Regions from separate parts of the Homo sapiens genome. Here all the other regions are linked to region 6. The links are contacts of gene promoters, found by promoter capture Hi-C in human tissues and cell types (Jung and others, 2019). All regions are on one chromosome and are shown on one strand. The core of a region is centred on a gene start or on the middle of the fragment in contact, and the rest is flanking DNA. Distances in the headings are between cores, read along the strand shown. Region 1 overlaps LINC02017 (long intergenic non-protein coding RNA 2017). Region 2 overlaps CACNA2D3 (calcium voltage-gated channel auxiliary subunit alpha2delta 3). Region 3 overlaps ERC2 (ELKS/RAB6-interacting/CAST family member 2). Region 4 overlaps ERC2 (ELKS/RAB6-interacting/CAST family member 2). Region 5 overlaps ERC2 (ELKS/RAB6-interacting/CAST family member 2). Region 6 holds the start of WNT5A (Wnt family member 5A).

Region 1 (3,854 bases), core at 773-3,272, 310 kb before region 6:
AATTCAGAAAAAATCAGCAGATAGGTCAATGTTGCATAGTTTATGAAAGCAAGGTGGAAATGCATAAAATCAGAGTGCCGTGGAAAGGATAATGTTGGGGCATTTTTCAAATGCATCTTGTTCGAATGTACTCTGAAAGGTGGTATAAATTAGCAGAAAGTCACCCTAATGCACAGCAAATGCAAAGGCAGAGAGGCATTTGAAGGAGTCACTTATTTTAAAAACAAATCTTAAAGGAACACGTTTAAGCATAGAAGTTAACATAGATGTATAATTACACTGAAAAATAATTTTCATTTTTGAAATACATTTCCTTTTTGGAATTTAACAAACAGGTGAAAGAGATTTAGACTATAAAAGGAAAATTCGATTTAAGTTTTAAAAAGTTTGATGTTAATGGTTTTTGTGGGGATTTGAAAATTATCTAAAGATTTTGATGAAAATCTCTCCACATGAATATTTAACAAAACATCTACAAAGAGAAATTTTATGTTGGTTGAAAATGGAATTTTTCCACCCACTCTATCAATATCTTTTTTCTTTATGATTTTGTTTAATTAGTATATTATTTTATTGTGAAACATTTCATGGCCAGTACAGAAAATCAGAAAGTACAAAAAGCAAAAAGGAAAAAATGAAAATATTCATAATTTAACCAGAAATATCTATCTTGGATTATGTCTTTGGCTAACCCTCTTATGCATATATGTATTCATATTAAAAACGATATTTTTCAAAAACAATGTTAACTTAATGTATTGGAACATTTTTCATGCTATTGATTATTAAATATTTTAAAACTTGGGGACAAGAAGGCATCTTGTTTATCAAAGTTTTCTAGTTGAAAATTCACTCAATAAAAATCATTTGTGATCTCAAATCACTCACTTCATTTGATCCTCCCAAAATCTGGTGAGGGAGGAGGTGCAGGCACAATTGCAGGGAATGGAGCCAGAACTGTTAACATTCCTGGTGAGACAGCAAAGTCAGAGAGTGTCCACGAACTCCCCAAGTTCATACTCAGCTGGTGAGTAAAGGAGACGGGACCTGACCCCGGGCCTCCTAATAATAAATCCCAAATCCCACCTTCTGGACTATCACACTCACATGGCTTTCTCCCTTGTACCACTCAGGATTCTGCTCAAATGGAACCTCCTCAAAACCCCTTTCCTTTCTCATCTTGTTCCTTGCCGTCTCTGTGAGGACCATGACACTAAGTTGGTTTCCACCTGTAGCCTAGCACCAAGCACAGCATCCAGTATATAGTAAATGCTCAACAAAGGTTTGCTGATCGAACACCACACCATGGTGCCACTGGATCTCAACACGACCACAGTTTGGAGAGTTGTCAAAAGAGATGATGAACATAGGCTCTGACAAGCTAGCATATCTGTTTAGGTTAATCTGAGTAAACAGACTGAATCAATGTACTGGTTGGATTAAATTAAGTTCATTATTTTCATCTCTGGGGAAAATCAATAAAACAAAAGAAGATTATGCGAAGCAGATAAAACAACCATTATTGAACTAAAAACAAACCCCAAAATAACAGCAGTTGATTTTTTAAAAAAATTCTGTTTAGTGAAGAAGCAAAAAATTAATCAATACTTTTATACTATCTAAATAACCAGATGATAGGATAGCCAGACTCTTGTCACTTCCTAATCAGCTATTTCTATGTGTATGATAGAAAATATTGGAGTACATCTTTGCAGTTTGTTTATTATTAGTTACTGTCCTTTTTAAGAATGGACCAATAGGAAAGCCCCCTAGTGGCCAGTTACCGATTACATCGCTTTTTGGTTGGCACATTGAAATTTTTTAACTAAAAACAGTCCTGTACACGGCTGCATTTCTGTTTAAGCACTGTTTGTCAAAAGCACTTTTTTTAAGAAGCCAGCTTTTCTCACAAATGTCTAAAAGTTCTACATTTGAAACATTTAGTCTCTAAGAATTCTTTGTCTTTCTCATGTTTACAAGCATAAGTAGTTCCTATATAAAGCTAAAGGAGGGCAAAAACTGTATTTCTCTATCTTCTTGACTACTTGGTCTATTTTAAACGTTTTCTTTTTTCTAACTATTTTCCCCAGTAATATTCACCCAAAGAAATGTGCAGTCAGTCTCTACTAAAACTACAAAAAATTAGCCGGGCATGGTGGCGGGCGCCTGTGGTCCCAGCTACTTGGGAGGCTGAGGCAGGAGAATGGCGTGAACCCGGGAGGCAGAGCTTGCAGTGAGCCAAGATCGTGCCACTACACTCCAGCCTGGGTGACAGAGCAAGACTCCGTCTCAAAAAAAAAAAAAAAAAAAAAAAAAAGAAATGTGCAGTCACAGTATATTACTACACATTTCATACTGAAATGTCTTTATTAATTATAAAGTTAGTCTCCAACTTAAGTTAGTCTCACTAGAATAGTAGTATAGTTTTAAGTTGATACATTTGAAAATAATTTATTTGAATAACTTCATTTTCAAAAATACATATATAATTTGAATACTGTTGGGGTAAATGTGATGTCACCAGGAATTATAATACTGAAAGAAGTTAGTTCTCAAATCTTAAAAACAAAGCAACAAAATCTCAACTTACAGTTTTTGAAAATATAAGATATTTTTATTTTGAAAAATAATGTCAAACTGTATATATTTTAAATATATTTAATATTTATTCTAAAACCCATTTTCTTAAAAGTGAAATGTAATATCTGAAGCCTTTCCTGTAATGATAATTATTGCTATCTGCATTGAGCAGAAACATTTTAATGATCCTTTTAAAGGATGCAGTAAAAACAAAACATGCAACCTTCAACCGATTCCACCTTTGTATAAAGTAACTCTTCTTTCGAGATTCACATTTCATCTGCAGACTGATACGATGCCATGGCATTTCAGGAAATGTAAATGCAAACGAAAGACAGTGATGAAAAATGAACGACTGATGGGTTTTATTTTGTTATTCCAGTACTCTTCCTCCAGTTTATGCAGTTTATTTTCACTAAGCCTTGTTATCTCTTTTTGTGTATTGTATTCCTTTCAATAAATGAGTGGCTTTGATCGTTTTTCAAAAATGAAAACACATATAGGCCATGTGTACTCATATTTTTCTGAACCTGTACAGAACTATGCAAAACAAAAAAGAACACATCTTTCTCTTTCCAAAACATGGCTGTGTTTCATTGCTAAATTTTTATACATCGTAATTTCTAGAGACCTCTTCTTAAATTGTCATTAGTAGAAGGTCATTCTGGCCATGTGAATTATTGTGAGATTTTTCATATACATAAAAAATAGAAAAAGGCTTCCCATTCAGGTATTTCAGTCGCTTTCCTAGTTTTGGTTGATATGATATACTTAACATTGGAGCCATTTAGAGATCACCTGTGACTCAGTTAAGGCAAGAATGAAAAACATTTCTTTAAAAGTTTCTTGAACTCAATTAAATGGTATCCCTACCTCCCCCTTCTCCCCTTGCCCTTTTGTAGGAGATGGCATGTTACTATGAAATATTACTGCCTTGCTTGGGCAACTTTATTTTGGGCTTTAGTTGTGGAGGAAGTGGAAAATTTTAAACATTTTAACCAAATGGATTAAAGAGATCATCTCTGTGCTTCCTTTGCGTGGGGTAAAAGGTCAGCTCTCACGCACTTCCAATCTCCTACTTTCCCCCAGCCAGTTGGCAGTCCCCATGCCATGCTGCATGTATGGACAACAAGCCTTGAGGTCTTTTCTGTTAGAACATATAATCGCCCCGAGTTAGAAGTGGAAAATGGAAGCCTCTGATCATATGCTCATAAAAGGCAATTTCAGTGTCAGAACACTGGACTGAATAAATATAGAAAGGATTTATTATGAAG
Region 2 (3,729 bases), core at 518-3,017, 420 kb before region 6:
GGGAACAGGACACTGTGAACAGGGCCAGTGCCAAATTCAGTAGCTCCCTGGGACCGACTCATTGGCTTTCATTTTATCTTTGGATAAAATCTGGAGAATCTATATAAAGGGTAAAAATCTATAAAGGGTGAAATACCTCAGTCTAGGGTCAAAACGTTTTAAGATTCTATCCTGACCAAATATTTTTCAAGCTACAGTTTTGTACCCATTTAATGAAAGGCAAGCCAAACAAGCTCTCCACATGTGCAATCCTGTGGTCCTCGGGGGATCTTATCCCTGCGTTCCTCCCCATCCCGCGTGCTTGTTTGGAGGGAGTATGAGGGAGGCATGGTGATCGCTTTCATCATTTGCTCAGGAAAGCCCCTCTCGGAAGATAGTGTGCGGCAAATACTCTGTCTTGTCACGGGAGGCTGTCTTGAAATCGCATCATCTTTTTCCCTCCAGTTCTTCCTCTGTCTGTAGTGAGTGGGAAAGGGAGGACTGGATTATTTCAGTTCTGGCAATGGACACATCAAAATTGCTTCCCTCTCCCAACTCCCTTTCCCTCGAGGACCTAATTTATTTCACGCATTTTGACCTATCCCTGCTTAGAAACAACCGCTGTGATTCTCTGCTGAGGCATTTCCCTCCTCGCCTTTTTTGGCCCCCAGGCAAACCCACCAGGCCACAGCCCCTCTGACTATGATGTCAGCCTGGCTGCTGGGCCCAGCTGGATGGAGGTGTGTTTTATGAAGTTCAACCCTGCACCCTGGGCCATAAATACACATTGTACACATAAATGTACAGCTAACATTGCCCAGGCCCCTCCGAAGCACCATGTTAATAAGCAGACAGTAAGTCTTTAAAATATGGAAAAGTAGTTAATCTTTCCGCTGGCAATCTTTTGTAGCGGGGGGGGCTTTTCTCCTCTCAGTGTAGCTGCTTTCAGGGCTTTTCAACTCCTAGGATTTGGGAAAGAAAGAAGGAAAGTTGGCTGTGGGACTTTGAAAACAATGCTATCTTGCATTTGCTGTCATTAAGCATCTGCACTGAGTGATCACTCTGGGTCTGTCCTCAAGGAGTTTGAGCTCTAATCGTTCCAGCACGAGACAGACAGTCTGCTGCCTGTGGCAAAAGAACCACACTAGCCTGGGCTCCGGAGGGCTGCAACTTTGGGTTTGAACCTCTGCTCTGCCCCGGTTACTCTAGGTACTTAGTTTTTTGTTTCCCTATCTGTAAAATGGGCATAATTTTATCTTATTCATATAGCTGTGGTAAGAGTTTACTTATCCTCGTTGAGTTTCAGTTTTCTCTTTTGTAAAATGGGCTTGACCCTCACAGTTCACTTTATACTTGTTTTAAGAAGACATTAATACATTCTCCTTGTAGAGAACTTCAGGGTTACAGATGGAGTTCAAGTGTCCCTTGACAGTTACTCCCTGTCACAGTCCTTTCTTCAGAGGTAACCACTGTTGCTGGTGTGGTGTGTAACCTTCCTGACCTTTATTTATACATCCATGCATTAGATACATACATACATACATACATACATACATAAAGACAGAGCGATAGATATATAAAGAATTTATAGAAATGTGTCTTTTTTTTGTACTCACTTTATGTATAAATGCCAACTACTTACCAGGCAAGTAATCCTAGAGGTTACAAAACAAAAAGCCTTACCAAGAAATTAAGATGCTCAAATCACTTGGCTGATTGAATTCATTTAAAGCATATGGCTAGAAGCAAGGGGAAAGAGGACGGAGGATCTCCCTCCCTGTAACCTGTGTTATGCACTGTTCCTCTATTCTCCTCTTCTCTCTCCCATCTTCCCTTCCTTTCCCTTCCCTTGTCTCCACCCTCTCCTGCTCTGTCTCCCACTGATGGTGTAGCGAGGAGGACCACACTTGAGGGTCCTCAGTCTGGAACAGGGCCTAAGCAGGCAGAAGGTGCCTGCAGCCAGCACACACTTGCCTTATTGGAGAGGTGCAAGGGCAAGTGTGTAGCTTGCCTGTAACCTCCTGAGCAGCCACACATTTATCTGTGTGTCTCAGGCAGAGAATGGATGTTGCCAGTGAGTTAATTTAAGGATGAGCCAGGAGAGAGCTATCATCAACCTAGAGACAACAAGGTCTGTGCCTTAAGAATTGAGCGCATTTAATTTTACGTGGTCCTTCCCTTCCTTCTTCTCTATAGGAAGACACTTCATATGTTCTTCCTTTACTATTTCTGTTCAACTTGCATACGCTCTACTTATTGAGTCCATTTACTCTAGTCTAACATGAGTCATGGGTCACTTAAGTGCTATCTATACCTAATACATCTTATAAGTTTTATCCATCTCATTTATTTTTCTTGTTTCTCTGTAGCAGAATTAAATATTCTTAAATAGTCCTAAATATTCTTAAATACTGGTACTTTACGTATAGTTTTACAACATTATTTTCCCACTCAACGTCTTGGGTCTCCTTTCATGACAGTAAATAGAGATCCTCTTCACCCTGTCACCTGGTGCCAAGAAGACCACCGAGTGGACATATTCTTGCTTATTCAATCATTGCCCCATTGTTGGACATTTAGGTGGGGTTTTTGCTTTTTCTTTCTTACAGTGAACGTTGCTACCAAGAGCATCTTTGTACATGACTTCTTGGGTTCTGAACATGAGTTTACTTTACTGAGAAGTAAAACTACAGAGAAATAGGGTGTAAAAGATTTCCACTATAATAATAACAAATTGTCCTCATAGTAGCTATAAGTTTCACTTTCCCACCTGTGGTATAGAAGAGTATTCATTTCTTCAGACTTTCTCCATTATTTGATATTATCATAGACTTAAATTTTTACCCATGTCCTAGTCAAATCATTATTTTCACTTATACTTCTCTAATTTTTAGTGAGATTGAACCCGCTTTTACCTATTTGTTACTCATCTGTGTTTCCTCTTCTATGAATTGTCTCACGAGTTTCGATGCTGGATATGGCAAGCAACTGCCCTTCCCTTTTTTATAAAACCCAATCTTTTATGATTGTCCAGACTATTCTCTATATTTACTCTTCTGAAAGAATCCTAGAATCATGTTCTCAAATTCCATAAAATATCCTATTTTTATTGAAATTGCTTTGAATTAAAAAGTTAATTAAGAGAGAAATGACATATTTAAAATATGAGTGTTCCTTTCCACCACCATTGTACTTCCCTCCAATTTTTAGCTAGTATTTTTATGTTCCTCAGTAAATTTGCATCATTTTCTTCATTAAGGCATATGTTTTACTAGATTTATTCTTGGGCCTTTTATACTGATTATTGATACTATCAATGGTTCTTTATTTCACAAATATTTTTCGTTGGTTATTGCCAGTGTCAGGCTGTGGTTTTATATGCTGATTATGTAACTAGCCAGCTTGCTGAGTTCTTTTATTAGTTCTAGTAGTTGGTCAGTGGGTTCATGTGGGTTTTCTATGAACACAGCAATATCTGTTCTCTGGGTGATTGATTGGGTAGAATTCACCTGGGGGTAGATTCTCAATGAGCATTTCAGTTTTGTTCATGGCAATTGGTCTGCTCATGATTTTTATAGCTTGGCCAAATGTAGATAATTTATGCTTTATCCCCAAAGGCGTGTTTTCTCTTAAGTTCTCAGATTGTTTACAATGCTATACATAATGGTCACCAAAAAATGTTGAAAATGCTCCCGTATCTTACAGGTTATAATGATACTTTGTGACTTAATTTCTTGATCATGAGTGCCA
Region 3 (3,877 bases), core at 1,050-3,549, 390 kb after region 6:
CAAACAGACTTGTATTTGAGTTCCACATATATGAGCCTCAGTGTCTCCATCCACAGAATGGGGGCAATAATACTCCCCGCCTCACAGGAGGTGACAGCACTATCTGGGTGAAGTACTTAGTCCATGGAATCAGTACTTAATAAGTGTTCACTGGTAATATTAATCCCATCCCCCAAAGTCTGCATGCACTGGATAGCATATATGCCTGGGCTAATTTAATTCTCTGAAGACATTTTAATCCAAGATAGTACATTCCTCAAGGCAGGGATAGTGAAGGACTCTTGATTCTACCTGACATGCAATTTAACTCACTTTAATTATTTCTCTATAATGAGCTATGAAACACATCCCTGCTTGGCTCATATATTTAATAACCTAAGAGTTTTATGAAAAATAAATGCCTAAAAATTCAGGGAAAATTCTATTGTGGATGTATTAGAGCAGTGTCCTAAACCATGCAGTAACTTTCTTTTTTCTTTCTTTTTCTTTTCTTTTTTTTTCTTTTTCTTAATTTTTTTTTTTGGCAGAGTTTCTGCATTCAAATTAAGTCCCTCAAGGGAAGGAACGAAAAAGAGCCCAGCATTTCCTAAGTTTCATCTACGTGACAGGGCATTTATTTAGTGGAATTACATACAGGAGGGTCTTGGAGATTGCCTTTGCCTTTCACTTGGGATGAAAATTTCCTCTGCAGCATGCAAAACAGGTGAGAGTGTTCCTGCTGCTACAGAGTTCTTTTGCACTAAAAGAAAAATCTTCCTCCTCTCAAATTTTGCCTACCAACTCTAGCACAGTCATCTGAGGCAGCATGAATCAAGCCCAGTTTTCTTCTTACAGTCACTTCCTTAACAGTTAAAAGAAGCATCTGTCTTCTTGGACTTCTCTGGACCTAATACCCCTTATAGGTCAGCTATCCCCAGCACAAAGAGATTTTCAGGAATACCTCAACTTGTTCACTCACTACATGCCTCCTCACAGTCTACCAACCATGGTACCCAGAAATGAACTCAGATATGCACTAAACATACATGCATACACATACATGTCTGTTAGGAATAGACTAGAGGTGTAATTGCAAAGTTGTTTTTTACTGCTAAGTGACATAACATACCAGTTGACCTATTTTTCTTCACACTTTATTCATGTTGTCAGAGACTGCCAATTGCCCCCAATATCCATTCTTTCCTTTCCTTCCTTAGAACTGGATTCCCAGAATGCAGCTAAAGGCTATATTTCCCTGCTTGGTCTTGAAGCTAAGTATGACCATGTGGCTTAAAACCCTGGCCAGTGGGCCCCTTCCCCCACACTTGTTCTCACATCTAGTAAAATATAAGCTCCACCAACAGGAGGATTTTTGTTCATAGAGTCCTTTCTGTTCACTAAGAACAGGGCTTAGATAACTGCCTAGGGCTTAGAACAGTGCTTGCACATAGCAGATGCTCAGCAAATATTGAATAAACTGTGAAATGACTCAGATGTCAATGGATGGGATGTGTAACTTAAAGGACAGGGAGGTTTCTTTCTCGTGCCTCCTTTCTGCTGGTTGGAATAGGGATTGGATAGCTGGAACTGAAGCAAAAGTCTCACACTAAGAGGTGCAAGCAAATGCTAAAAATGGCAAAATGTCAAGACAGAAGGAACGTGAGTCCCTAGTGATTACAAAGCTACTTGTATGAGCTTCTGGAATGTGGGGTTTTCTGATTCTTGCATTTGAAGCTAACTAGAACATTCCTCTATTCTAAAGTTATTTTCTTTATAGTTAAGTTTTACTTACCCACTATAAGTTTTATGTTCAGCATAGTTTTTTTGTTGTTTTGTTTTGTTTTTGCTATAGACTATAAGCCATCAACTTCAGAGTTAAAAGAAGGAAACAGAAATCTGGAGTAGTAAGCAACTGTGCATTTATGTCACTGCCTGCAGCTAAAACCAAAATTGGTTTTGAATGAGTCATTTTTTGTGACATTTATTCCTTCCCTCTCTGCTACCTGTCCTGACTCACTACAGGTAACTCAGAAAGCTGCAATAGGCTTTATCAGTGTTCTAGCTGATTTAAATACCTGTTGGAACTGAGCAGGTAGTAAACAGAAACAGATGACAAACAGGACATTCTAGGACACATTACCATAGTATTTAATATTTTTAAAATTGGACATGTTAAAGTTTTTCTCAATAAACTACTGGTTAAAGAAAGAATAGTATTATAGCAAAAAAAAAAAAGAAAAAAAAGAAATTCTTGAATGGAGAAGGCCAAGTTGTAAATTAAAGACAGGATTAGTGTATGCTAACTGTAATGAATGTACCTAACATACTAATATATGTATAGCCTTTTGTGGGTTAAAAATCACTTTCTCATGAATTTATAATCTCAGTCAATCCCCATAAGATCTCTGTGGGCTAGCACAACCCTCTTGTTTATTGAGTTTATCAATTTTAAGTAACAATTGGCTTCAAAACTCTTCTCCCAAACTCCATTTATCCTGTCCAAATTGCTAGGCACTTAGGATTCCTTCCTAAAGAAATGTGATTTGTCTTTTCTCATGTTGGCATGAAGTAAAAAATAAATTGATTTTATCATTTCTGCACCCTTGCTCTCCTTTGAAGGGTACTTACCTAATGAGTGGCTCTCTCAGAAAGGATCTTAGATCAAAGAGGCCAACAGGATAATGCCCTCGAATAAGCTGCTGTCTTACCTCACTGTAAATGTCCTAAAATAATCCAGTGTATACAAAGACTTGTGAGGCTATCTGGAGAAGACGTCTAAAACCCAACAATACCCAGTAAATTAAGATGAATTGCACCATATCGTCAGATGAGTTAAAAACAAAGGGGCCTGCTGAAAATGTTTGTATAAGCATAGGAAATCACCACAGAAAGTCTAAAATAAACATTTCAAAATATGTGACTATTAAGCAGGTATCAAAACCCTTATTCAACTTAGCATTTTATACTAAATGAAAAATATCAATTAGGATGCCTGTCTACCTATTAAACTACTATAGTAGTTTAAATCGTCAAAGCAAATGCACACAGATTTTTAAGTACTGTATCTCATGGCCCTCAATTTCTTTTAGCCACAGATTTCAACTCCACCTGCCATAAATTAAATAACTGGGCTTTTGTTACTGGAATGTAAGCTTATTAGCTGGCATTAATAAAATCAAACATAAAATGATGTTCTTAATATGCTTTTAATAAAATTCCTTTAAAATAGGAGTAAATGTAACAAAATTGAACAATTATGAAATGTTTTAGCAAGAAGTTTTGGATATATTTTAAGTACAAGAATAATCTTATACACAAGGAAAGGTGAATATTATGTACTATGAAAATATATGGTTGGTAACTGTTAGTTTCTTCCAGCAGAGGAATAATAACTGGCAGTTAGAATATCAACCAATAAAGACCAGACTGAAGAAGGGTATTGCTGTGGTTTGAATATTTGTCCCCTCCAAAACTCCTATTGAAATTTGATCCCAGGTGGGGCCTAATGGGAAAACGGTGTTTGGGTTGTGGGGTGAATCCCTTGAATAGATTAATGCCCTCTCCCTTGGGGGTGAGTGAGTTCTCACTCTGCTAGTTTCCCTGAAAGAGCTGATTGTTAAAAAGAGCATGGCTCTTTCCCTCATCTCCACCTTGCTTCCTCTCTCCCCATGTGATCTCTGCACATACAGCTTTCCTTTCCCTTCTGCCGTAAGTGGAAGCAGCCTGAGGCCCTCACCAGAAGCAGATGCTGGCACCAAGCTCCTTGTACAGCCTGCAGAACCATGAGCCAAATGAACCATTTTTCTTTATAAATTACCTAGCTTCAGTATTCCTTTATAGCAACACTAAATGGACTAAGCCAGGAATGTTGAGGGAAATAATCATACACATGTATACA
Region 4 (3,709 bases), core at 387-2,886, 330 kb after region 6:
GGTCTGAACGATGGGACTGTCAAGTGAAATTCCTCCTTTCTTTTGGCAAAACAGCCAAGACCTTCCAGAGCTGTCCTGGAAGGAGACCATACCCTGAATGTTTCAATACATTATGGTGACATTTATGCAACACGGATTCTGTGTGCCAAGCTCCACACTCAGAGCTGGGGCCTCACAGCCAAATCAGCCTAGTCCCTGCCCTGGGTAAAAGCATAGTGAAGTGCCTCTCATTTCATCAGAATAGAGTAGGAGTCTGAAATAGTCAATAAATCCTAAAAGTCAGAATTAAAAAACAGTACAGTACTACTAACTTTTATACCTCGATGAATGATATCAATGTATATCTCACTCCAGATCAAATATTCAGCAATTATCAAATGCTATTACACTGATAAGATTTCTATGAAACACACAGTACAACAGTATAAGAATGTTTCTTCTTTCAAAAGAAAAACAGAAACACAGAAGCTGACCTTCTGCTCAGATGAATCTAGGTGTGAACTCTCACTGGCTACTTGCAAGCTGGGATACTTAGCAAGTGACCTAACTATCTTGACTTTGTTCTCCACTTCTGCAAGATGGAGGCATTGACACCACCAACCACAGAGGGGTGCTACGTGTGTGCAATGTGACAAGGCAGCTGAAGCACTTAGCACAATGCCTAGCATTCACCAATTGTTAGAAATGCTTCTTATTTTTAAAGTGCCTCCAAACTCACTACATAGATTCACTGGCAACAATTCAGCAAAGAAACTTCTAATGGATTCAGAGAAGGAATACGTTTAATATTTTCTAATGGAAAGCATTTCAGAGTTAATGTATATAACTTGTTTCCGCAAGTCCACAAGTATCTTTATGTCTACTTGGGCACATAGGAAGGAACAAGCTTTTACAGATACCAGAGTACCTTGCAAGATTGGCTGGCACTGGTGCAAGCTAGTGTGGGTCACTCCATAGAAATTCATTTTTCTGCACTAGCTCTTAATGGTCCTTCTCTGCTGGGCATTTTCGGCTATGGTTTAAAGTAAATGCATTCAAATAAACATCTTTTGGTGCCAGAAATGCCATGGGCACATACTTTTCTTTCAATGGTCCTGGGAAGTGGTTTGTTAAACTATTGTTCTCGATTAAAAACTCGTGTGTTTGTTCAGTCCAATATGGGTCACCGCTTTGAGTGAAAGATCCCTTGACATGGCAAAACCTCGACTTGTGACAAGCCAGTGCCAAGTATGTCTTAACCAGATGCAGGCCAGGGTTTGATTAGCAGCCACTGAATTCCATGTAAAATCAGATAATGATGGTTTTTCGCCTTTCTGTTGAGCAAATATCCTCAGCTTTTAATCAAGTCTATACATGAAAACTCCTCTATAAATAACTTTATGCAGTACAATGGTTTTAAAACTATGGTTCATCTCAACTTTCCTGACCTTTGACTGCTTAATCTGAGAAGAACCTGTGCAATACCAACTAAAAATAAAGGAACTACACTATTTATTTTGGCAGATTCCATAAAGATATAATAGAGGGACATGTGGTGAGTGGAAATTCTCTACCACACACAGAGAGAAAAGAAAGGAAAGGCTCTGGAGCCCATTTTTGTTCTCCCACTTGTGGGATAGCATCTATTAGACAATGATGATATTAGGACGGCAGAGACAAGTGCCGCTTTGGAATGCTGCACCAGACTCCATGGCCATGCACAGAAGCCTTCTCTGCCCCGTTTGATGTCCAAAGGGTCCAACTCAAACCTGGGAAACATGAACCTTTTCAGAGAGGCTGGGGTCTCAGCCTGGGCTTCCTCTCCTTTCTTGTGGGTACAATTTGGGCATCTGAAGTTAATTACTTGCAGGTGCATTTTGGCTGCGTGCAATGGAGGGGGGTTCCCAATTAGCCTCTTGCAGGTGTAATTAGCAATTTCACCTCACTTTGAGGGGGCAAGTGGATAATTGTGCCCATGAGGTTGTTCCTAAAGGGGTCTAGCAGAATGCCCATTGCAGACTGCTGTCTGGAGAATAAGCTCCATGAAATGGGATGCTGAGCATTCAGGAGTAAGTGTCAGGTGTCCACGTGGGGTCTAGAAGTGGAGCCCCACATGGAGGGTGGGGTTAGGAGTTCCTTCTGGTTCTTCACATCCATAAAAGAGAGTGGAGCCACAAAACAGCATTGAGAAACAAGGACCTCAGGCAGACTCTCTGAGGCATAAGGGAGTAAATACTTTGGCCTGATGACATTGAGTAATGCAAGAAAAACTAGCTCAGAACGGGAGTGGACCAGAACTACAGAATTAACATTTTGTAGAACAAAAAAAGCAAAGCAACTCAGTGAAAATAAATTATTATTAACTTTGCCATAAGCCTTACACTTAAAGTGTTGTCACAGAAATCAACTCACGTGAGCTCATAAACTTAGTTATAATATTCAAAATTTTAATAACAACACTTACTGAGCACTTATGGTGTCTGACCTTATTCTGAAAGCGTGTGTGTATTCAACCGATGCTCTTAACAGACTGCTTTAAAGACTCGCTCTACCCATTTTAAAGAAGATAAATTGAGGCACAGGGAGATCAGGTAGCATACCCAAGGTTACACAGCGAGTAAGTAGTGGAGCCAGATCTCCAAGCCGGGCAGGGCACCAGATAGGTCACTACTCTGGGTGAGAAAATGTTCAAACAAGAAGATGGAATCAGGGAGTTGAGGCTTGCTCTGCAGGATGCATCTATACAAAATCATTAATTGCTTCATTCATTTGTTCAACCATCTGATCACTCAAGGAACATTTAGTGAGCCCTGGGCCAAGCTACTGCGCTGGCATAAGTGTAACGGAGAGGGAGACAGCCTTCTTAGCCCCAGTGTCAGGCTAATGTTTTATAACTTGAAGGTTTCCTTGGCTGCTTGTTCAGTGTTGGGAAGAAAAATGGGAGAGAGCAAGAGAAGAAGGAAGGAAACAGAATGAGGAAAAGAGACAGGTATGAAGGGTGCTAGAGCGTGTGAAGAAGGGGTAAAAAAAAGAAACCTTCAAAATGAGTTTTTCTTCTGAAAATGAATCCTTTTATGAGGGGGAGAGGAGAAACCACATCAACTGAACAGTGAGATTAGACTGATGAATGTGGAGGAGAAACCCTACTGTTCCTCCAGATGATTGCTTGCTTTAACAAGAATAGGTGTGCAATAGGACTGCCAAAAGTTATTCCCCATGTTAAAATCTGAAAACCAAAATGACCCCATCTCTGGCTCGCCGGCCACTGTGGTCTGTAGAGGGGCTAATTCTGAGCACTTGAGTTCTGGGAAACCCATCAAACACGTGGAAATGAGCTTGATGAGAATCGCTAGATGTGAAGGGGCTGAGTGCTACTAAGACAAATTCCACTGCCCCATTCCCTTACTGACCAACCACCTATATTTTATCATTTTTATTGAAGCACACTTTACCAGCGTCATTACATATTAACCTGTGTTGAGATTGAAACAGAAGATTCACAGTGATGCACCCTAAAGGATGTGCAAAACTTGAGAGAACACCAGGACCAAAAGAAACCTAACTTGTTTTCTGACAAAGCTGATGGTCATTCTAACAAGAGCTGATGTAGCATGCATGCAAATGTCTCACAGGGACCACCATTCAGTCCTCATGATGAACTTATGAACAGCTATGACTCCATTAACCTAATAACACCTAATACATACATATTGAGAGCTTCTGTGTGTCC
Region 5 (3,837 bases), core at 228-2,727, 310 kb after region 6:
CAATACAGAGCTCAGCAAAGAGCTTCGGCTCTGGAGTCAAAAGACCAAGTTCACTTCAAAAGGTGGAATCCTCCATTCCTGATGGGTGTGAGTTTGGGCAGGGGTGGGTAACCCACCTGGGCCTCAGCTTCCTCTTCTTGTCAACCAGGGTCATCATGAGACTCAAGGAGAACTGTTTAAAATTGCAGGGAGTTACACAAATTAAATAGTGTTTATTTTAGGCATTCATGTAATTCTTTGTGACTAAATATGGGGAAAGAGATTTTGTTCTAGATAACACAAGCACTTGTGGTGGGAAGAGGAAGTAAATGAAAATTGGGGCTGGGTAAACAGTTAATTCCACTTGGAGAGCCTTTAGAGGCAGAGATCTCTGTTTTGATAAAGATCATTTAAATTCCAAAAAAGAAAACAGAATGGAAATGAGAAAGTAAGTTTTTAAAAGTCCAGAAATAATTGCTAACTATAAACAGACATAAAAGATAGGTACATATCTCTATGTATGTGGAGATATGTATGTGTGTATATATAAGTATATATATATAAAACAGCAGACATGTAATGAACTATATTAAATATGAAAATCTTACTATGTTTTTCCACTTTGTTTTTGTCCTTTAACAGCTTCAGAATTCTAAAACTCAAACACATGTATGCTGAGAAATGTCTGAGATGTTTTTAGGTCAAGCTAAAATCAAATGTCATCTCATAATCTTATAATCTTCATAAAACTGCTTTTATTTTCAAGACATGCAAAAATCCATATTAACCCATCAGGCACAATTTTGAATATAGGACTCGAATGAAAAATTAGAGTGTAGTCAAAAACAGTGAAATTCTTATTTGTGGTCAATACTGAATGAATTAAATGTCTTTTGACATCTTTTTAATTTAAGGACCAGCTTTAAGAACAAAAATTCAGAGATACAAGGAATCCAGATTCATTTTTCTGCCCTTTATTTAACTGTTTTGTATTCTAGTGGGGAAAAAACATGGAAAAATCTGATCCACCTTCCTATTGATTAGCACTCTGCAAGAGTAAGGAGTATGTGAACATTTTTACTCCAGAGTTCTCAAAGTTAATCTTTCAAGGCTGGGCTTTCTCTCCAGACCCTCACCCACGACTGTGTATCTTATGTATTCATGCACATGGAGGACATAAAATACATGTCAAACAAAATAAAGCAAGTTATTAAGTACAACAAACCCCTAAATCTTGGTGGAAGTCAACAGATAAACAGACTATAACAGACTATAATAGTCTAAGTACACAATGCATAATTCATGGCTAAACCAAGGCTAGGCTTGTGCAATATTTCACCAGCTCCCCTTTGCAATCTTTGAGGTTAAGACTGGGTAAATTGCACTGACTGCTAACTCAGCAAAACTGAAAAATTAGAAAAGAAACCCCTAACCTTTCCAATAATGGGAACAGGCAAGAAGGCAGAGGGTGGAGAAAGGTATTGTTTAGCTCTCGAAGCTAGGCATTTAAAAGTCACTGTGTGCCTAGCTCTCAAAGCTAGGCATTTAAAAGCCATTATCTTATTAATATATAATTTTATTGTTGACAAATGTTTATTTTTCTGCTAAAATTAAGAGAGCAGATCACTTCCCTTCTTACACCTAATCACCAGCCCCTGTGCTCAGTTCACAATAGGCCTTCAATAAACATTTGTTTAAAGAACTTCCTTTTGATTTCCATTTGTTGTCTATGGAATGTAGCAATGAAATGTGAAGGTGAATATGCAATGACCAACAATAGTAATGGAAAGGTGAATAAAATTAAGCACCTCAATGCAATCTGGATCCCGGACAACTTTTCCATTTATTATTTCCCAAAATGTAGAACAAATGAATGTGCATGAATTTCCCAAAGCTAAGAAGTTGAAACCAAGTCCTTGGCAGCACTTCAATAGCCACAAATGAGGCTCTATTCCATTAAGGACCACCATGTCTTCCAGGGAATAGAGAGCTGGTGGATTCTGGGTGTAGAGTACAGTGTCATTTTTAGCAACTAAGAAATGAGAGAGGGAAGACAAATGTCAAGTCAGCACCAGCAGAAATTATTGTGTTTCCTGACAACGGGTGAACCATGCCTGGTGATGCTATAACCCTGAGCCCTGGGGAGTATATAGATTGGTCCAAATAGCAATATTTGTGCTAAGATAACTGTGGATGCAATTTATTTACTTATTTTATTTTATTTTATTTTGAGACAGGGTCTTCCTCTGTCATCTAGGCTGGAGTGCAGCGCAATCTCTGCTCACTGCAAACTCCGCCTCCCAGGTTTAAGGGATTCTCCTGCCTTAGCTTCCTGATGTAGATGCAATTTAATTCGTTCAAGGTACTCTGCAAATATTTTTAATAATACAAATTGAAAGAATGCTATAAACACAAAAAGGTGAGAACTCCTGGTTTAGCCTTCTAAGCAAATAGATTTAACCAGTCATTAACATCCCCTTTTGAATGTGTTGAGGTTGATGGTTATTTGCTGATCAAAAAAGCCAGGTGAACATTCTAATTACAGAATGTCTGTGACTTATAGTCACTGCAGGACTGTTTTTGCCTAAGAGTAAGCAGAAAAGATACTGGTTCTGCAAAGTTTTTATTCAGTGCTATAGGGAAGGTTTCTTTCACTGTTTAAAGTTTAGAGGGGCAGTGGGAGACTTAAAAAAGAGTTGTTATGATTATTTCACAACTCATGTTATTTTGACATATTGATGATATAAATATAATAGCAGATTGCATTGTTAATAAGAAAATTAAAATTAAAAACAAAAGAGCCTAGATAAAGCAGAAATAATTTACACTGAATCTGTTAAAAGGGATAACACTTCACTTCCTATGAAAAATCGTATTATTTAGGGCCCCCGTCTACACCTAATCAAGTTACTTAAAACCTCAGTACATCACTAATGAACAAAGAGAGACAGAGAGCAATAGAAAAACTTGAATGGTAGCTCGAGGCTTTCATGAAATTTAAAAGATGATGGTGAGTGGAAATTTTAAAAATTTGGATGTGTTCAAGTAAAATCCCTGTGTAATTGCCTAGATATAGAAATAGTGCCAGATCTCTGCAACATAGGCACACAGATTAGAATTTCTTTCTGGACCTTTAAAATAAGCATTAAAAGCAAAACCATGTACCTTTCACAATATGGAAATAAAAACTAGTACTCTCACAAAATGTCCCTTCTCTGAGTTGCACTTTAATGTTATGGCACCCTCTTTTATTGGGAGTCATTGTAGGAGACAGTGATATGAAAACCACATCTGCATTTGCTGGAAAGGGCTGTCAAAGGAATTATCCATTATCTATAGAAAATCACACATAAGAAACTCCTTTTGCTATCTGGTGCCAGGAAAATCTTTATCTCTAGAAACTAATCTGTTTCCTCCTTTCTAATAACAAGAATGATACAACTTTTATCCTGTTTCCCTTTTTGCTCTGGCTGCCAGGGAGTTCAGGGCCAAACTTGATGATCAGTCATAGTAATTATAATGGACTTTGTGGCTAGAGGAATTATTTCCTCAGGTTTTCATGGCTTTTATTTTCCATTTTTAGTTGTATTAATCATGTTTTATGTGTCCATGTGTGCACACATGTGAAGACTTGGTTTTAATTGTAACTTACTTCAAGTCCTTTTTGGAAAACAATGAATTATGTTTATCTCATAAAAGTAAAAAATACAAGAGATGTATGTCAAAATATGCTTTTTCTTGGTACAAATAGCTTTCATACCTGTGTGAAAGCATACGCATTTTGTCTTTCTCTTTGGGGATAACTACTTCTAAACAAGTTATATGTTAGTCAACATTATACCCAGACAAGCTTTCTTC
Region 6 (3,637 bases), core at 713-3,212:
TTGAGCACCGGAGCGCACGGGGGAGGGGAGGAGAAGACAGGGGACTCTTGGGCCGGGCCTCCTGGGGAGGGTCTTCCGTTGAGAGGGTCGGGGGGTGGAGGAGACGAAGGCTACTACGTCCTGGACCCGAGAACAACTCCCCTACACACACAAACACACACGCACACACACGCAGCCAAGGATCCACACACTCGGACACACACACATTTGTCGGCCCGCGGTTCGCTGCGCACTCTCCGCATTGCCCCCTCGAAACTCCCCTGGCAGAGTCTGTCTAGAAACTAAATCTGGCTGGTTCGGCAGTGAATGTGCGAAGGTGGCTGGGGGGAGGGCAGGGGCTGAGGAGGTGCGACCTCACCGCAAGGCCCAAGTTACTTCCAAACAGCGAATTACCCATTTAAAGAGAGAAGAGAGAAAAGAGAGGCGAGAGAGGAGAAGGGGCCTCGATACCAGACAGGGATTAGAAAGTCAAACAGGGCCGTGGGGTCTCCAGACTTGAAGTTTTTTGTTGTTGTTTTTTTTAACTTTTTGGGGGGAAGAGGGGTTATTTGCTTCCAGGAAACATCTTAATTTCAATTCTAACCTTATTTTCTAAGAAACTTAAAATGGGAAAGACCAGAAAAATGGAAATAGGAATCGAAGCTTGGAGGACAGATAAGAAAAATTGTTTAGAAAATAAAAACTTATGTTGCAGGAAGAAACGTTAACTTTTCGTAAAAGTGAACTCTCAGTGACCCTCGGAGTGTGTGATTCGGCTTTAACATACAACTGACAATTAAAACAAACAAGAGTTCGCAAACTGGCCCCCGCCTGCTCTCCCAAAGCGGAGGCCCAAGTGTTTTCTAAAGGACAAGGCGGACTCCGCTCAGGGGGCCGGGGAGCGCTGTCCCGGAGTACGGGATTACAGCCACTACCACCACAACTCCCCGCCCCCACCACTGCTGCAAAGTGCCTGAGCTCACCCAGTGGCGGCTAATAATGCTAATAACGCGACCCCGCTCCCCGCGCCGGGGTGCGCGCTGGCCCCCCGCCAGGCACTCTTAAAGGCAAAGGGGCCTGAAGCGCTCGAGTTACTCGGCCAAGGCAAGCCTACAATCTGGCCTCCGTCGGTGCGGGGGGGTGTCGGGGAAGGTGTACGCCGCTCTGGAGTAGTTGGCCCCTAGTTCCTCTGCGGGTTCTCTCAACCAAGGAGTCCCTTTCCCCATCCCGAGCCCCGGCCACACACCGTCCCGGTGCCCGCGCAGTGGGCGCTTGGTAAATATTTGTTGAATTGAATCATTATCCTGTTACTGAAATATACATAGTAAATTACACTCGATGTTCTCAGAGCAAAAGGAAAGTCGTCAGTGAACCGCACTCAGTTTGTCTACTATCGCTCTTCCCCACTTTTTCTCAAAAATCAAAATTGTTTGCAGAACGGGTGGTGCGACCAGAAGTGATCTCCTGGGACACTGAGGCAGTGCGCCCGGCGTGGAGGGCGAAGGGGTAGGGGTTCCTGCCAGCGACGCTGGAGTTCCAGCTTCTTCAGGCGGTTGGGGAAATGGAGGGATAGGAAGAGGCGAAGGGAACTCAGTTAACTTCCAACAGGGGGTGGGGGGAAGTAAAGAAAAAAAGTGGCAGCGCACTGAACACCTACCTTCATGGCGAGGGGGAGGGGGCGCGGGGAGGAAGTCGCCACCCGAGCGAGCGCAGCCGAGGAATCCGAGCGGAGCGACCGGGTTAAGCCTGGGGGGACGGTCAGGAGCAGGGCTGCGGAGTCCTCCGGCGCGCGTCCGGCGGGCGCAGTGAACCGGAGCTGAAGCGGGCACTGGCGCCCGGGCCTGGACTCCCGAGTTGGGGCAGAGCTGGGATGCGCCCAGGAATGGAGGGGGCGCGGACGCGCGCGAGCCGGCAGCAAGGGCAGGGCCTGGTCGGGGCGCAACTAGGGAGCCGCCGGTCCGGCGAGGGCGCGCAGGCAACTGTTCCACGGAGAGGCGCTCCGTTTCCAACGTCCATCAGCGACGGCGGTAATTAGGGCTTTCCAACCCCAAATGTGGGCGTGATTGTGCAAAAGACCTTACGACAAATAATAATAAAAAGAAATTCTTCACAAGAGGGTGAAAAAAATGTACCACTACTCAACTGTGGCCCGGGGCGGGGGAAGGGGGGCGATCTGTGCGCCCAGGTGCCCCCAGTTCATTCACACCACAGATTCTGCAAACTCTTGGCGGCTCACGCCTCCTGATCTCCAGCTCCTCCTCTCTGGGTCTGTAGCCGAAACGTCTGCTTCCAGACGCTGATCCTGCAGCCGCGAGTTAGTGTGGACGTCTCTGTACACACACAGACACACACCCCAACACACACACCCCCGCTGCAGCTTTGGGGCCACAGAACAATCAGGCGCGCATGGCTTTTTCTCCGGGAGATGCCGCTGAAAACGCACAAGTCGCCATCTGAGCTGCAAGAGTCAGCCCCAAATTGTGTCCTTTCATTTTAGGGTTCGGCAAAAACGGGGAGCAAAATAGGTGAAAGTCGCCCCGGAACTTATTGCTGTGCGGTGAGCTGGAGGGGTGCGACTAACCCAGGGGAGACGCGGGCTCCCCCCCCCCACCACGTATCCCGTTCTTTCTCTCTTCGGGTTGATCTCTCTTTTCCCCGTTTTTCCAGGGCGAAGGGCGAAGAGCAGCGAGTGCACCGCGGGCGCGAGGCTGGGGAAGGGCGAGAGCTCGGAGCTCCGCGGCGGCGACTCAGCTCCGGCGGTCCATGGCCGGCGAAGCTGCCCACCTCCTCGTTTGGCGCCCGGGTCCGAGGGGCGGGAGAGCGGGCCGGCGGGAGGCGGGCGGTCCCGGGCACAACGGCGGCGGCGGAAGGGCTCGCTGGGCAGCTGCCGCACGGACCCCGGCTCTGGGCGGCGGAGGCGGCTCCGTGGAGCTCGCAGCAGATTTCCACGCGATCCTGTGCCCCGCAAACAGACTGACCGACCGCGGGGACGCGTCCCCCCCTCCCACCCCCCAGCCCTTCTGGCCAACTGCCTTACTCTCTCCCTCCCTCTCTCCAGACTCCTCTTTCCCCTGGTGTTCTCAGAAGGAAGAAAAAAAAAAAAAGAAAGAAAGAAAGAAAGAAAAAAGTTCTTTAAAGTTTCAGAACTAGGGGCGGCTGGAAAGAGAGAGGGAAGGGGGGGGAAGAAAGAAAAAACTCAACTTTGCTATGCGCATGCGTGGTGAGGCCGGCCTATGACAAACTCTGCAGGATTTTAAAGCCGTACTACGGGCTGGGGTGCCGGGAGGCGGGGTACACTCTCCTTGTCTCCCCTTCTCTAAGTTCCCCATCCCCCGCGGCATCTGCTGAAAGAGAGAGGTCCACTCCGCAGCCGCTGCCTGCCTGCCGCCTGGTTGTCTGCGCTCCTTCCAGAGCCACCGACCGGCGGGAGGCTGAACCCCAACTTCCCCGCCTGGACCCCTTGGCTCGCCCGCGTATCCCAGACCGCTCCCACTGGGGCTCCACGGAGACTGCTGCCTTGACATGGAACCTCATGGGGGACCTCCTCATTCTTACCTCTGGGGGAGGATACTTAAGCACTGGGGCTGATGGATAGGGTTAGGCGCTCACCTCCTGCAAAGTCCCCAGAGTAGTAGGGACTTGGGTAGTGGGATGCATG

The links. The method cuts DNA at HindIII sites, captures the fragments that hold promoters and counts their contacts. A contact is called where the count stands out against the background at its distance.
Region 1: a fragment that was not itself captured here is called in contact with the fragment with the promoter of WNT5A in region 6 in 1 of the 25 tissues and cell types used here (IMR-90 fibroblasts).
Region 2: a contact is called between a fragment that was not itself captured here and the fragment with the promoter of WNT5A in region 6, in 1 of the 25 tissues and cell types used here (IMR-90 fibroblasts).
Region 3: a fragment that was not itself captured here is called in contact with the fragment with the promoter of WNT5A in region 6 in 2 of the 25 tissues and cell types used here (H1 embryonic stem cells and IMR-90 fibroblasts).
Region 4: a contact is called between a fragment that was not itself captured here and the fragment with the promoter of WNT5A in region 6, in 1 of the 25 tissues and cell types used here (H1 embryonic stem cells).
Region 5: a contact is called between a fragment that was not itself captured here and the fragment with the promoter of WNT5A in region 6, in 2 of the 25 tissues and cell types used here (H1 embryonic stem cells and mesendoderm cells).

What each region holds. Positions count from the first base shown.
Region 1 is chr3:55,179,373-55,183,226 of GRCh38, forward strand. All of the region lies in intron 1 of LINC02017 (long intergenic non-protein coding RNA 2017), which reads left to right. All of the region lies in intron 2 of LOC124906243 (a long non-coding RNA gene), which reads right to left. Among named protein-coding and RNA genes, the nearest start is that of LINC02017, 3.1 kb to the left of the region's middle. The HindIII fragment of the contact is 6,692 bases long and covers 1-3,854 here.
Region 2 is chr3:55,066,212-55,069,940 of GRCh38, forward strand. The region is part of intron 35 of CACNA2D3 (calcium voltage-gated channel auxiliary subunit alpha2delta 3); the gene reads left to right. Among named protein-coding and RNA genes, the nearest start is that of LINC02017, 110 kb to the right of the region's middle. The HindIII fragment of the contact is 5,644 bases long and covers 1-3,729 here.
Region 3 is chr3:55,878,589-55,882,465 of GRCh38, forward strand. All of the region lies in intron 14 of ERC2 (ELKS/RAB6-interacting/CAST family member 2), which reads right to left. Among named protein-coding and RNA genes, the nearest start is that of MIR3938, 28 kb to the left of the region's middle. The HindIII fragment of the contact is 7,322 bases long and covers 1-3,877 here.
Region 4 is chr3:55,818,071-55,821,779 of GRCh38, forward strand. The region is part of intron 14 of ERC2 (ELKS/RAB6-interacting/CAST family member 2); the gene reads right to left. Among named protein-coding and RNA genes, the nearest start is that of MIR3938, 33 kb to the right of the region's middle. The HindIII fragment of the contact is 3,158 bases long and covers 58-3,215 here.
Region 5 is chr3:55,790,877-55,794,713 of GRCh38, forward strand. All of the region lies in intron 14 of ERC2 (ELKS/RAB6-interacting/CAST family member 2), which reads right to left. Among named protein-coding and RNA genes, the nearest start is that of MIR3938, 60 kb to the right of the region's middle. The HindIII fragment of the contact is 5,182 bases long and covers 1-3,837 here.
Region 6 is chr3:55,485,344-55,488,980 of GRCh38, forward strand. It overlaps WNT5A (Wnt family member 5A), which reads right to left and starts at 1,963. Exons shown (of 5, transcript NM_003392.7): 1 at 1,637-1,963. The coding sequence starts at 1,642. WNT5A-AS1 (WNT5A antisense RNA 1) reads left to right here and starts at 2,275. Exons shown (of 2, transcript NR_046656.1): 1 at 2,275-2,536; 2 at 2,647-2,965. RefSeq lists an enhancer at 3,587-3,637. The HindIII fragment of the contact is 9,126 bases long and covers 1-3,637 here.